Linked DNA regions of Homo sapiens: region 2 is linked to region 1. Evidence: promoter capture Hi-C in human tissues and cell types (Jung and others, 2019). All regions are on one chromosome and are shown on one strand. Each heading gives the region's core, a stretch centred on a gene start or on the middle of the fragment in contact. The rest is flanking DNA. Distances are from core to core; before and after follow the strand shown.

What was found. The method cuts DNA at HindIII sites, captures the fragments that hold promoters and counts their contacts. A contact is called where the count stands out against the background at its distance.
Region 2: a contact is called between the fragment with the promoter of GIGYF1 here and a fragment that was not itself captured in region 1, in 3 of the 25 tissues and cell types used here (adrenal gland, dorsolateral prefrontal cortex and hippocampus).

What each region holds. Positions count from the first base shown.
Region 1 is chr7:100,426,915-100,433,945 of GRCh38, forward strand. MEPCE (methylphosphate capping enzyme) reads left to right here and starts at 2,917. Exons shown (of 4, transcript NM_019606.6): 1 at 2,917-4,775; 2 at 6,005-6,223; 3 at 6,349-6,475; 4 at 6,588-7,031. The coding sequence starts at 3,105. The coding sequence ends at 6,640. ZCWPW1 (zinc finger CW-type and PWWP domain containing 1) reads right to left here and starts at 1,789. Exons shown (of 18, transcript NM_001386010.1): 1 at 1,654-1,789. RefSeq lists silencers at 1,267-1,316, 3,137-3,606 and enhancers at 1,477-1,706, 2,727-2,866, 3,737-3,816. The HindIII fragment of the contact is 6,950 bases long and covers 2,124-7,031 here.
Region 2 is chr7:100,692,417-100,699,056 of GRCh38, forward strand. GIGYF1 (GRB10 interacting GYF protein 1) reads right to left here and starts at 1,834. Exons shown (of 27, transcript NM_001375765.1): 1 at 1,694-1,834. RefSeq lists a cis regulatory region at 908-2,401, silencers at 1,263-1,382, 1,553-1,652, 2,093-2,252 and an enhancer at 2,940-3,743. The HindIII fragment of the contact is 16,890 bases long and covers 1-4,627 here.

The DNA of each region.
Region 1 (7,031 bases), core at 4,349-6,848:
TCCCTCCCTTCTCCCTCCCCCTCCTCCCTCCCCTTTCCTCCCCCTCCTCCCTTCCCCCTTTCCTCCCTCCCTCTCTTCTCCTTCCCTCCCTCCCGTTTCCTCCCCCTCCTCCCTCCCTCCCCTTTCCTCCCTCCCTCTCTTATCCTTCCCTCCCTCTCTCTTCTCCTTCCCTCCCTCTCTCTCTTCTCCTTCCCTCCCTCCCCTTTCCTCCCCCTCCTCCCTCCCTCCTCCCTTTCCTCCCTCCCTCTCTCTCTTCTCCTTCCCTCCCTCCTTCCTTCCTCCCCCTTCCCTCCCTCCTTCCTTCCTCCCCCTTCCCTCCCTCCTTCCTTCCTCCCCCTTCCCTCCCTTGCTTTCTTCCTTCGTGTTTGTGCACAAGCTCAGCAAGCCCGATTTAAAACTTTTAACAAGAAAGAAGAGGCGGGTGGATCACCTTAAGTCAGGAGTTCGGGACCAGCCTGGCCAATACGGTGAAACCCCGTCTCTACTAAAAATACAAAAAAATCAGCCGAGCACGGTGGCGCGTGCCTGTAATCCCAGCATTTTGGGAGGCCAAGGTGGGCGGATCACCTAAGGTCAGGAGTTCGAGACCAGCCTGGCCAACATGGAGAAACCCCGTCTCTACTAAAAATACAAAATTAGCCGGGCACAGTGGCGGGCGCCTGTAGTCCCAGCTCCTCGGGAGGCTGAGGCAGGGGAATCGCTTGAACCCAGGAGGTGGGGGTTGCAGTGAGCCGAGACTGCGCCACTGCACTCCAGCCTGGGCGACAGAGCGAGACAGTCTTTAAAAAAAAAAAAAAAAAAGCCCCAATTCCAAATCCACCTGCAATCCAAAGGGAAGAAGTTTTGCAGAGAAGTTCTTCCCATTTGTGGGGCGCTCCCATTTTTCCTCTCTTCCCTCACCCCTTATTCTCTCTCAGGGATAGCGGTTCAAGTCGGTGTCCCTGAGCCACACGTCCCCCTCTCTCTTCCCCGTCCCCTCCCTTCCTTCCTCCCACCATGAGGGAATCTCCCCTCCACCCCCACTCCTGCCGAGGCCCCGTGATCCTTATTCTCACTCATATCGTTGGTGCCCGCCAGGAGACTGGGCTATTTTTTTTTTGTCTGTTTCTTGGGGGCGACAGATTCTGAGGAAAAAGGGCGAAGGGCTGGTTGTCGCCCTGAGAAAGTTTCTCCTCAGGCAACGGGTGCCAGGACTGGCAGCGCCTAGCACCTTCACCTACAACCAGAAACTAGCTGGCTACCTTCAGGAGCAAGGAGGACCTAAAGGCGATGGGCGGAACCAGCTGCCGCAGCGACTCCGCAAGCCCCTCACACCTCAACCCAGGTTTCCCGCCACCAAGAAAAGGCACGAGGACGCCCTGAGCACTAGCTCCACCCGAGGGCGGTGCGCTCGCGGGGCCGAGGCGCATGCGCAACTGGAAACAGCGTCTGCGTTTCCGCAGCTGAGGTAAATCCGCCATCTTCCACCCGAACGTCCCGGGAAAACTACAAATCCCAGAATCCTCTTTGGTGTCACATATTTTTAGGCGGCGGCCGCGGCGCCTGATTGTTCCTGAAGCACATCTACTAACTTTTCTGTTTCAGACTGCCTTTTCCTCCCTCTTTCCGTTCTCTAATTCCTCCTCTTCCTGCTGGTCTCCTTCACGCCCTCACCTTAGGATTTTGAGACTCTCCTGGACCCCACTGTCACCCCTGCCGCCCTGTCCTCGGCCCAGCACTCCGCTGGCAGGGAGACCGGGCGGCGCATCTCCCCGGGAAAACGGCGTAGACTCGCTTCTTCCTCATTGGCAGAAGCTGGGGGGGCCCAGCGCGGACCGAACCCCCGTCCCCGCCCACACTCGCTGGTATATAAGTCGGCGTGGCGCCGCGGTGGGTGTTGAGAGGCCCGCGAACTGACGGGCCAGTGAGCGGGCGTCGGGAGTGGGCGGATGCGTTGGGGTTCGGGTCGTGGGTGTTGAGGCGGAGAGGAAGGCGTGGTGTGGCGTCTCCAGGTGATTGCGATTGGGGGAAGGTAGAGGAGCCAGAGAACGACTCAGCCGTTTCGGGGGAAGAGGAAGTTGGACAACATCGGCTGTTTTAGTGCTTTTTATTTTTCCCCAATTCAGCAGAGAATATTTTCAAGGGGGGTGAGTTATAATGACCTATCGCGTTTTACTGAGCCCAGTTCCACTCCCGCCCTTCCTTGGCTTTGTAGGGTCTCCCCTCCGCTCCCTCGGAAGCGCTTCTAAGAAGGTGGGCAGAGGGGGGGAGGTTTGCTACCAACAGCTCATGAATAATTCATGAGCCCCGCCCTTCGTCAGGAAGCCCCGCCCCTCCGGATCGCGCTGACGCACGCTGCGTTTACCAAACTTAAGGAAGCGACGTCACAGGCCCAACCCCTAAGACGGGGGGCGGGGCGCCAGTTTCAGCACGTGCTGCCTCTACCCGCGCAAGCCCAAAAGGGTGTGCGCAGGCGCTGCCCACTAGGGGGGAGGAAGGAGGCGGGGTGGGGAGGTTGTTGGATTTAGAGCCGGGCGGAGACCGCTGAGACTCATTCCTCAGGAACAAGGGTCGGGTGTCAAGGAGACCTTTTCACACCAGCTCCCGTCCCCCGCCTACGGTGGGTGGGATCGCGCGGCAGAGACAAAGGAGATCAGTAGGGCCGGACATAGCTGCGCAGGGAAGTAGGGTGTCAGTTTGGGGTGGTGGGCTTTTGCGGGGGCTGTGGGGGGGTTATATTTAAACTCCCAGAGCCGTTAAGTTGGTTCGTAGTCTGATGCGCGCGCAACCAGGGTGGTGGCGGAGTGCGCATGCGTGGTTCCCGGGCGAAGGGAACGCGCGCTCACCGTGCGCGCTCGCGGCCGGGTGGTAGTGGCGGAGGAGAAAGGGGTCGGCGCACGCGCGGTTGAGTCCTCGAGTAGTTCGGGTCTCGCGGGCCTCTTGTTTTGGTCTCGCGGGCTAGTAGGGCGCACTTGGCGGGGAGGCGCTTGGGCGCGAGACTAGGCGTGAAGAGCAGAGCTGCGCGCGCACTCGGGAAAGGGGGGAAGGGAGCAGGGTCCAGGCAGGGGGGGTTAGGCCCCCTGATCCCCCTCGTTACCCCGACTGGCACGGAATAAGGGGAGGAAATGATCGAGATGGCGGCGGAGAAGGAGCCGTTTCTGGTGCCGGCCCCGCCGCCGCCGCTCAAAGATGAGTCGGGCGGAGGGGGCGGCCCCACGGTGCCACCGCACCAAGAGGCCGCCTCTGGGGAGCTCCGCGGCGGGACGGAGCGTGGTCCGGGTCGTTGCGCGCCATCTGCGGGGTCCCCAGCCGCTGCGGTCGGTCGGGAAAGCCCCGGGGCCGCGGCCACCTCCTCCAGTGGTCCCCAGGCGCAGCAGCACCGAGGGGGCGGCCCCCAGGCGCAGTCGCATGGGGAGGCCCGCCTGTCGGATCCCCCGGGGCGAGCCGCTCCCCCGGACGTGGGGGAGGAGCGCCGGGGAGGGGGCGGGACAGAGCTGGGTCCCCCTGCTCCTCCTCGACCCCGCAATGGCTATCAGCCCCACCGGCCACCTGGGGGGGGCGGGGGCAAGAGGAGAAATAGCTGTAATGTAGGGGGAGGCGGGGGAGGCTTCAAACATCCGGCCTTCAAGAGGCGCAGGCGGGTGAATTCGGACTGTGACTCTGTGTTACCCTCCAACTTCCTCCTGGGGGGCAATATCTTTGATCCCCTGAACCTGAATAGCCTCCTGGATGAGGAAGTGAGCCGCACTCTCAACGCGGAGACCCCTAAGTCATCCCCCCTTCCGGCCAAAGGGCGAGATCCGGTGGAGATCCTCATCCCCAAAGATATTACTGACCCGCTCAGTCTCAATACTTGCACTGATGAGGGCCATGTAGTTCTTGCTTCGCCACTCAAGACTGGTCGGAAGCGGCATAGACACCGGGGACAGCACCACCAGCAGCAGCAGGCAGCCGGAGGGAGTGAGAGTCACCCCGTGCCGCCCACAGCCCCTCTCACCCCCTTACTCCACGGGGAGGGCGCCTCACAGCAGCCGCGGCACAGGGGCCAGAACCGGGATGCCCCCCAACCCTATGAACTCAACACAGCCATCAACTGCAGGGATGAAGTGGTGTCTCCCCTTCCATCTGCTCTGCAGGGTCCCTCAGGCTCCCTATCAGCCCCTCCAGCTGCCTCAGTTATCTCTGCACCCCCATCTTCCTCCTCCCGACATCGCAAACGTCGCAGGACTTCCAGCAAGTCGGAGGCAGGGGCTAGGGGTGGAGGCCAGGGTTCCAAGGAAAAGGGCCGAGGGAGTTGGGGAGGCCGCCACCACCACCACCACCCACTGCCTGCAGCAGGCTTCAAAAAGCAACAGCGCAAGTTCCAGTATGGGAATTATTGCAAATACTATGGGTACCGCAATCCTTCCTGTGAGGATGGGCGCCTTCGGGTGTTGAAGCCTGAGTGGTTTCGGGGCCGGGACGTCCTAGATCTGGGCTGCAATGTGGGCCATCTGACCCTGAGCATTGCCTGCAAGTGGGGCCCGTCCCGCATGGTGGGCCTGGATATCGATTCCCGGCTCATCCATTCTGCCCGCCAAAACATCCGACACTACCTTTCCGAGGAGCTGCGTCTCCCACCCCAGACTTTGGAAGGGGACCCGGGGGCAGAGGGTGAGGAAGGGACCACCACCGTTCGAAAGAGGAGCTGCTTCCCAGCCTCGCTGACTGCCAGCCGGGGTCCCATCGCTGCCCCCCAAGTGCCCTTGGATGGAGCGGACACATCAGTCTTCCCCAACAATGTTGTCTTCGTCACGGTAAGAGGGTCCAGAGGCTCTTGGAATAGGGGCCAGGTGTGAAGATGAGATTAAATGGGAATGTAGCAGGGAAGGTTATGACCCAGATCCTCAAAAGAGGGGTCTGGGTTGGCAAGTGAGAGCCTCTGCTGGGCGTCTCTCCCCTCTTATAACCTGGAAAGGTGGGGTGTCTACCTTGGGGCATTGACCCTGGAGTCCTTTGTCATGACTGCAAGGATCTCCAAGATAGAGGAGGACTCTCTTTTTGCTCTGCTCCCGGCTTGGCCTATAATCCACACTGGTCCACCTTCCCTTCCCTTGAAGGCTGCTGCTCACTAGGGAATTTGATCCAGGTGGAACTTGGTCCTCAGATTTACTGAAGGAGCCTGAGAATGGGAGTCAGACATGGAATGTCTTCTAGGGAGGAGATTAGGGTAGCGACAGACTAATACTGGCGTTTCTGCCCTTTGATAGCCACCTTGCTCCTATCAGCGGCTTTTGTTTTCCTAGACAGTTTGTTGAAGCGTGTCAGGAACCCAAGTGGTTTGGCTGTAGATCCTCTCCACATTGACCCTAGATAGTGGGAGAGGGAAGAACCAGAAACTCCTCTGCAGAGAGGAGAGAGTCCTGTGCCCTGCAGAGTCCCCTGACTGCACACAGCTCCCCAGAGAACACTCCAGTTAGGCTGCCTACTGGGATCTTTGGCATTGTGTTGGGTTAAGCCTGAAGAATGGTCTTTTTAGAGGGTTGTGATGAGCTGAGCTTCTAGAAAAGGCTTCCTAAAGGATGTGGCTCTTCATTTCTCTCAGAGAAAGGAAAGAATAGGCCTGAAACTTTGCCAGCCCCAACTGCAGGGAAGGAACCACAGGTCTGCCTTTGAAACCTGGGTTAGTTACCCTTGCAGAACCTGCAGTCACTCCACTTAATGTCTGTGAGTGAGAATAAACACAGGATATGGTCCTGGGACCCTAGCTTTGGAAGACTTCATGGATAATTTGCACCATTTAAAATTACTCAGGCTCCGTCGACCTTTTTTGGCTTACCACCAGTAGGAAGAAGCAGAGGCAGGAAGGTGTAGAGGAGAAAACAAAACTCAAAGAGGGCAGGCACCTTTTGGGAGTTAGTCTGAGAAGAAAGTGGCCACGGGCTAAAGTGAGGCCGCGGGACTGTATCGGCCTCAGAGCAGGTTGCCTGGGAGCAGGGGTTCTTTGATTCCCTCAGTTGACCTCACTGCCGATTCTTGCCCTCAGGGTAATTATGTGCTGGATCGAGATGACCTGGTGGAGGCCCAAACACCTGAGTATGATGTGGTGCTCTGCCTCAGCCTCACCAAGTGGGTGCATCTGAACTGGGGAGACGAGGGCCTGAAGCGCATGTTTCGCCGGATCTACCGGCACCTACGCCCTGGGGGCATCCTGGTCCTAGAGCCCCAACCCTGGTCGTCGTATGGCAAGAGAAAGACTCTTACAGTGAGTTGGGTGTTGGGGGAATAGTCATTCCTTTGGTTGAGGCAAGAAAAGGCCCCGAGGTGGGCATCGCCCTTGGCCAGGGGAGGCGGCAGCGTGCTGAAGTGGTCCCTTGCCTCTCTCCTTAGGAAACGATCTACAAGAACTACTACCGAATCCAATTGAAGCCAGAGCAGTTCAGTTCCTACCTGACATCCCCAGACGTGGGCTTCTCCAGCTATGAGCTTGTGGCCACACCCCACAACACCTCTAAAGGTAAGGCTGGTTTATTTTGTCAGGGAGGCTGGTCCTGGCTGAAAGAGTGCAGACCCCCATGGGGATTCTTGAGGTGCTGCCAACCCCTTCTGATCACTCTCTCTCCCCTCAGGCTTCCAGCGTCCTGTGTACCTGTTCCACAAGGCCCGATCCCCCAGCCACTAAGTGGCCCCCTAAACAGAAAGTGTGAAGAGGCTGCCCTCGCTGCTCATAAGGACCTGGGGGAAGAGGAAAGTGTCCCAAGGTCTTTCCTTTCTGACTCCAAAAATAGTTTCCTTTCTTGGATCTGCAAAGAAAGCTTTTCTTCCGTCGCTGCCTCAGCCTCCTCCCTATGCCTCTGGCACCTGCGCAGCAAGGCTGGCTGTGCTGGAGTCACCATCATCTTCCTCTCCCCCAGCCTCCCAGGCTGGATGGCATGGACTGTTTGCTGACCTCTGTTCTCTTAGGGCATGGGAGGTGGGAGGATATCAAATTCTCTAGCCCTTTCCTCCTATTCTCCCAAGGAGAGAGATTCCCATTTCTCCTCGGCCATTGTACCTAGCTCTTGTCCCTAGCT
Region 2 (6,640 bases), core at 584-3,083, 260 kb after region 1:
ACATCCTTGACACTATGCAAGACTGGAGGTGCGCACGGTAGCAGTAACCATCCCAAACTCGCAAGCATTATTCTGTGAGTTTGAAGCCATTTTACATTTGTTAGACTTTCAACATCCTTCATCTAGCCTCCTCCTCTCATCTTCTCTCCTCTAAAGTGGGCTATTTTTCTTTAATTCCCAAATTCCAATAGCAGATGTAAAAGTTAGGGCTAACGCATCAGATCACGAACACAAGACTGATGTGTCCAACAGCAGAAAAAGCTAGTCCAGAAGTTTAAGCACATGGTCCACTTGACTAACCACCACGTGGGACCCTCAGGGCCCCTGGTCCCCAGGCAATGGCAGGGACACCAAGGCCAGGTCTACCCTCAAATCCTTCCCAATGGCACGACAGACCGCTGGGGGACCAAGACCTACAATCTAAGAAAATCAGATTGGAGCTGGCTAGCCTGGTGGAGGGTGGCTAGCCTAGGTCTGCAAAGGGCACAGGAAAGATGGGAAGGAGAAAGAACCCCAAATCCCCCATGTCGGCAGCAAAGGAGAGACCCTTACTGGTACCACCGATGGTGTTTCCATGCCAAAGGCGAGGGGTTGGCGGGGTTCTAAATTGAAACTTCTATATAGACTCGAAGAGGCAGTGCACAAGAGGGTGGGAAAGCTGACGATCTTCCAGAACGACACTTTGAGAGGCAGGAGGGAAGTAAGGCTTGGGTGGCTGGAAAAAAAAAATCCAATCCAGCTAACAAGTCTTTATGTAGCATCTCCTAGTTCCTAGCACTAGGATGCAACAGACCTGGAGTCTGACCGGGAATGCGAGTAATGACTGTATAACAGAGAAGAGAGACGAGGGGCTTTTAAAAAGTTACTCGGAAATTTTTTTGTTTTTTTTTTTTTTTAAGGCAAAGTGTGAGAGCTGTGGCCAGGGAGCTGCTGCACGGAGGGGCATGAGCTGAGAAGGGCCTGGCCTGGGACGGGGAGGACAAGCAGTCTCTGCTAAGGAAGGTATTTCCCGCGGCCGAGCAACTGGGAAGAAGGAGACCCCAATGACCCAGCACTAAGATCGCCGGAGCGAAAGGAAACAGAGGTGAGGAGGACCCAGGCGAGGTGCCTGGGTGGAGGGCAAGGCTTCCATGTTGGCCAAAGTCGTGGAACGCTTGGACCTGGGGAACCGCAAGGCCCAGCTCGTTCCGAGGGGAACCCAAAGGCGCGCTGGGGAGAACTCCGGGAAGCGCGGGGCCCGGCCACCCTAGGACGCTAGGGTCGGGGGCCCCCAGGCGGCCCAGGGCAGGGCTTGGCAGGGGCCCGGGGGCGACCGTTAGGAGCGCGGGGGTGGAAGGCAGCGCGCCGGCCCGGGAGGACGGCGTGCCCTTCAGGGAGGGGCGCCAGGTGCGAGGGGGGCGAGCGGTCGCCCCCTAAGCCGGGCGCCGGCCTCCCGGGGCCTCCCCGAGGCTGGCCGGCTCTGGGGGAGGGTCCCGGCGGCGGGGATGGGCCGGAGCGGGCGGGAGAGCGGGAGGACGCACCGGGCTGCGGCGGCCTCGGGGAGGAGACGGGGGAGGGTCCTCGCTGGCGGCCCGCGCGCTGGCTCCGGCGCTTCTCTAGCTCGCGGGCTCGGCGCGGCCGCCGCGGCGTCGGGGGCGGGCCTGCCCCGGGGCTGGGCTGCGGGCCGGGGGCCGCGGGGCCACTGGGCGCTTACCGCGGGCGGCGCGAGGGTCCGGTCCCGGGGCGTGGGCGGCGCGCGGCGGGCGGGGGCCGGGGACGGCGACGGCGGCTAGCAGCGGGGGAGGGGGCGCTGGCGCTCCCGCGGCGGCCGCTCCTCTGTGTTTGTGTTTGTAGCAAGATGGCTGCCCGCCTCGCACCACGTGACGCGGACGCGGGGCCGCGGGGCCGCCCCTTCCACCGCCGCCGCCGCCGCCGCCGCCGCCGCCGCCGCCGCCGCCGCCGCCGCCGCCGCCGCCGCCGCCGCCGCCTCCCTCCGCGGCTCCGGCCCGCGCCACCTCTCCTCGTGCGCTGCTCGCGTGCCGCGCGCGCCACTGCCCGGACGCCCGTCGCCCCCGACAGCCCCCCCCCTCCCCGCCCCGACACGTGACCTGGGCGCCCGGCTGGTCACGTGACGGGGGCCCCCAGCTGCGGGCGGGATCGGCCCCAGAGCGGCCTCCTCTCCCCCACCTCCCCCGGCCCCGCGACGCGCGACCTCTGGGACCGAGGCCGCGGCCTCCCTGGCGGTCCGGTTTCCTCCAGGAAGCCCGCCTGGATGACAGGAGACAATAAAATCCAGAACCCTTCATCAGGCGTCCTGGGATGTGTGAAATAAGTGGCTCAGGCAAATAAGTTGACTCTCAGGAGCCTCTTTATTTTTTTAATTATTTATTTAATTATTGAGACAGAGTGTTGCTCTGTCCCCCAGGTTGCAGTCCAGTGGCGCGATCTCGGCTCACTGCAGCCTCCGCCTCCCGGATTCAAGTGATTCTCATGCCTTGGCCTCCCGAGTAGCTGAGATTACAAGCACACACCACCACGTTTGGCTTATTTTTGTTGGCCAGGCTGGTCTAGAACTCCTGACCACTCAAGTGATCCGCCTGTCTCGCCCTCCCAAAGTGCTGGGATTACAGGCGTGAGCCACCGCGCCCGGCCCCTATTTATTTATTTTTTTGAAGCAGGGTCTCACTCTGTTGCCCCAGCTGCAGTGTACTAGCCCGATCTCGGCTTACGGCAGCCTCCAACTCCCGTGTCTCAAGCGATCCTCCCATCTCAGCCTCCTGAATTGTTGGGACTATAGGTGTGCACCATCACACCCAGATAACTTTTTTATTCTCTGTAAAGACTGGGCGGGTGGCGTGTCTCATAACATTGCCCAGGCTGGTCTTGAACTCCTGGTCTCAAGGGATCCTCCTGCCACAGCCTCTTGAGTAGCTGGGACTACAGCTGTGTGCCACCACACCCAACTAATTTTTTTAATTTATTGTATTTGTTGTTTGTTTGTTTTCCAAGACAGAGTCTTGCTCTGTCGCCCAGGCTGGAGTGCAGTGGCGCGATCACGGTTAACTGCATCCTGCGCCTCCTGGGCTCAAGCAATCCTCCTGCCTCAAGCACCCTGAGTAGCTAGGACTACCAGGGCACACCACCACGCCCAGCTTTTTTTTTTTTTTTTTTTTTTTTTTTGTAGAGACAGGGTTTCCCCCATGTTGCCCAGGCTGGTCTTGAACTCCTGGACCCAAATGATCCTCCTTCCAAAGTGCCGGGAACTCCTGGACCCAAATGGATCCTCCTTCCAAGGTGCCGGGATGACAGGCATGAGCCGCCACGCCTGGCCTCTCAAAAGCCTCCGTTTCTCTTACAGAAGGATGTTAACACTGCTCTGCACCCAACCCCCGACCCCCAACTCCACACTCTTCCTTGAGTGCTGTAAGAATTAAAATAAGTGAATGTGAAAGGCTTTGACAAGAGAGAAACTGCTATGCAAATGTGAGGTGACTGAAACCCCCTTTGTTTAAAAAAAGGACTTTTCAAGAATGACTCGCTGAACTTTTTCAAGGCTCAAAAGTTCCGCGTATGCTTTCACCTTTTTCTTTGGAAGTTACTCCAGAATGTATACCTTACTTCCCAGAAGCCTAAAAGAGCTGTCGCCCAACACAATGTAATCCTCAAAACAAGGAAAAGGTAAGTTCATGACTTGGAATTTGAGTGCCTGGTGTCTTGCCATGATAGAGTGTTGACTTCAGGAACTATTATACCTGGAACAACTTTTGTTTCCCCCACCAAGTACCACTAGGCTTCTCTGCACTTGGAGTTTTCCTGTCTGTTTTCCTTTTTTAACTATTTTATTTATTTAAGAGACAGGGTCTTGCTCTGCTGCCCAGCCTGGAGTGCAGTGGCACAATCAGCTCACTGCAGCATCGACCTCCTAGGCTTAAGTGATCCTCCCTCCTCAGCCTCCCGAGTAGCTGGGATTGCAGGGAGTGGCACACCACCATACCCGGGTATTATTTATTATTTATTTTTTTTTTGAGAAAGAGTCTCACCCTGTTGCCCAGGCTGGAGTGCAGTGGCGTGATCTCAGCTCACTGCAACCTCCGACCCCAGGTTCAAGCAGTTCTCGTGCCTCAGCCTCCCAAGTAGCTGGGATTACAGGTGTGTGCTACCATGCCTGGCTAATTTTTGTATTTTTAGTAGAGACAGGGTTTCACCATGTTGGCCAGGCTGGTCTCGAACTCCTGAACTCAGGTGATCTACCTGCCTCAGCCTCCAAAAGTGCTGGGATTACAGGCACGAGCTACTGTGCCTGGCCCAGCTATTATTTTTTACTTTTAAATTTTTGTACAGACTGAAGTATCACTATGTTGCCTGGGCTGTTCTCGAACTCCTGGGCTCAAGCAGTCCTTCCATATTGGCCTCCCAAAGTGTTGGGATTACAGGCATGAGCCACTGTGCCTGTCCTGCTGTCTGTTTTTATATTTTATTTAATATTTTAATTTTTTTCGAGACGGAGTTTCGCTCTGTCGCCCAGGCTGGAGTACAGTGGCGTGATCTCAGCTCACTGCAACCTCCACCTCCTGGGTTCAAGTGATCCTCCCACCTTAGTCTCCTGAGTAGCTGAGACTACAGACAGGCGCCACCATGCCCAGCTAATTTTTGTATTTTTGGTAGAGATGGAGTTTCACCGTTTTGGCCAGGCTGGTCTCAAATTCCTGGCCTCAAGTGATCCTCCCGCCTTGGCCTCCCAAAGTGTTGGGATTACAGGCGTGAGCCACCGTGCCCTGCCAGCTAGCTTCCTTTCTCAAAGAGGGAGTTTATAGGCTTTAATTTCTGCTGACTTCAGCATCAGTGTTCACACTTTACAGTTGGTGGGGATTACTTGTCCAAAGTCACACATTGGTGTCCAGGAGATCCAGGGAGACCCCTCTGGTCTTCCACCGTGATTGTATTAGTCAGTTCTCATGCTGCTAATAAACCTTGTCCTTCCTTGAGCCCAGAAGCCTGGGCAACAAAATGAGTTCTTGACTCAAAAAGAGAGAAAAGTGAAAAAATATAATAAAAAACAAAAAAGAACTGTGAGTCTCCCATGAAGAATTTAAAAATTACAAAGAAATCACTTGGACCTAATTGGCCGGGCATGGTGGCTCACACCTGTAATCCCAGCACTTTGGGAGGCTGAGGCAGGTGGATCACCTGAGGTTGGGAGTTCAAGACCAGCCTGACCAACATGGAGAAACCCCGTCTCTACTAAAAATACAAAATTAGCCAGGCGTGGTGGCACGTACCTGTAATCTCAGCTACTAGGGAGGCTGAGGCAGGAGAATCGCTTGAACCTAGGAGGCGGAGGTTGCGGTGAGCAGAGATCACGCCATTGGACTCCAGCCTGGGCAACAAGAGCGAAACTCCATCTCAAAATAAAGAAATCATTTGGAGCTAATGTGTTTTTGTTTGTTCAGGTGCTGCTCTGTAAAATGTCTTGGTCTGTGTTCTAAATTTGCAAACTTTTTAACTAAACAAAGAGATTTGTTTGGAAGGTTAATGGAGATGAAAGAGTGGTCTCACGCAGACCAAACAGCCAGCCTCTGCCTTTCTTTTCTTTTTCTTTTCTTTTTTTTTTTTTTTTTTTTGAGACAGAGTCTTGCTGTGTTGCTCAGGCTGGAGTGCAGTGGTGCAACCTCCGCTCCTCCGGGTTCAAGCGTCTTGTATTTTTAGTAGAGATGGGTTTTGCCATGTTGGTCAGGCTGATCTCAAACTCCTGACCTCAGGTGATCTGCCTGCCTCAGCCTTCCAAAGTGCTGAGATTACAGGCGTGAACCACCGTTCCTGGCCCTTTTTCTTTCTTTCTTTTCTTTGAAACGGAGTCTCCCTCTGATGCCCAGGCTGTAGTGCAGTGGCACGATCTTGGCTCACTGCAAGCTCCGCCTCCCGGGTTCATGCCATTCTTCTGCCTCAGCCTCCCGAGTAGCTGGGACTACAGGCACCCACCACCACGCCTGGCCAATTTTTTGTATTTCTAGTAGAGACGGGGTTTCACCGTGTTAGCCAGGATGGTCTCGATCCCCTGACCTCGTGATCCACCTGCCTTGGCCTCTTAAAGTGCTGGAATTACAGGCATGAGCCACCACGCCCGCCCCGCCCCCACTTTTTTTTTTTTAATGGCAGATTCCTCTTCAGTGTTTTCCTTTGATGAAATGTAAGGAGAGGGCTGGATGCGGTGGCTCACGCCTGTAATCCCAGCACTTTGGGAGACCGAGGCAGGTGGATCATGAGCTCAGGAGTTCAAGACCAGCCTGGCCAACATGGTGAAACCCCCGTCTCTACTAAAAATACAAAAATTAGCCTGCGTGGTGGCAGGCGCCTGTAATCCCAGCTACTCGGGAGGCTGAGGCAGGAGAATCACTTGAACCTTGGAGGTGGAGGTTGCAGTGAGCTGAGATTGGGCCACTGCACTCCAGCCTGAGAGACAGGGCGAGACCCCGTCTCAAAAAAAAAAGAAATGCATGCAAGGAGATAAGGACTGTCTTGTTGTCAGATCAGTTTATTGTCAAATCGGTTTATTACAGAGCTTGTCTTCATCCACCTAAATTGCGAGCCTTGATATTTATGTGGATATCAGAGTTTGCAAAACATATTTTAGGTACCATGGAAAGACACATGACCTGAGTAA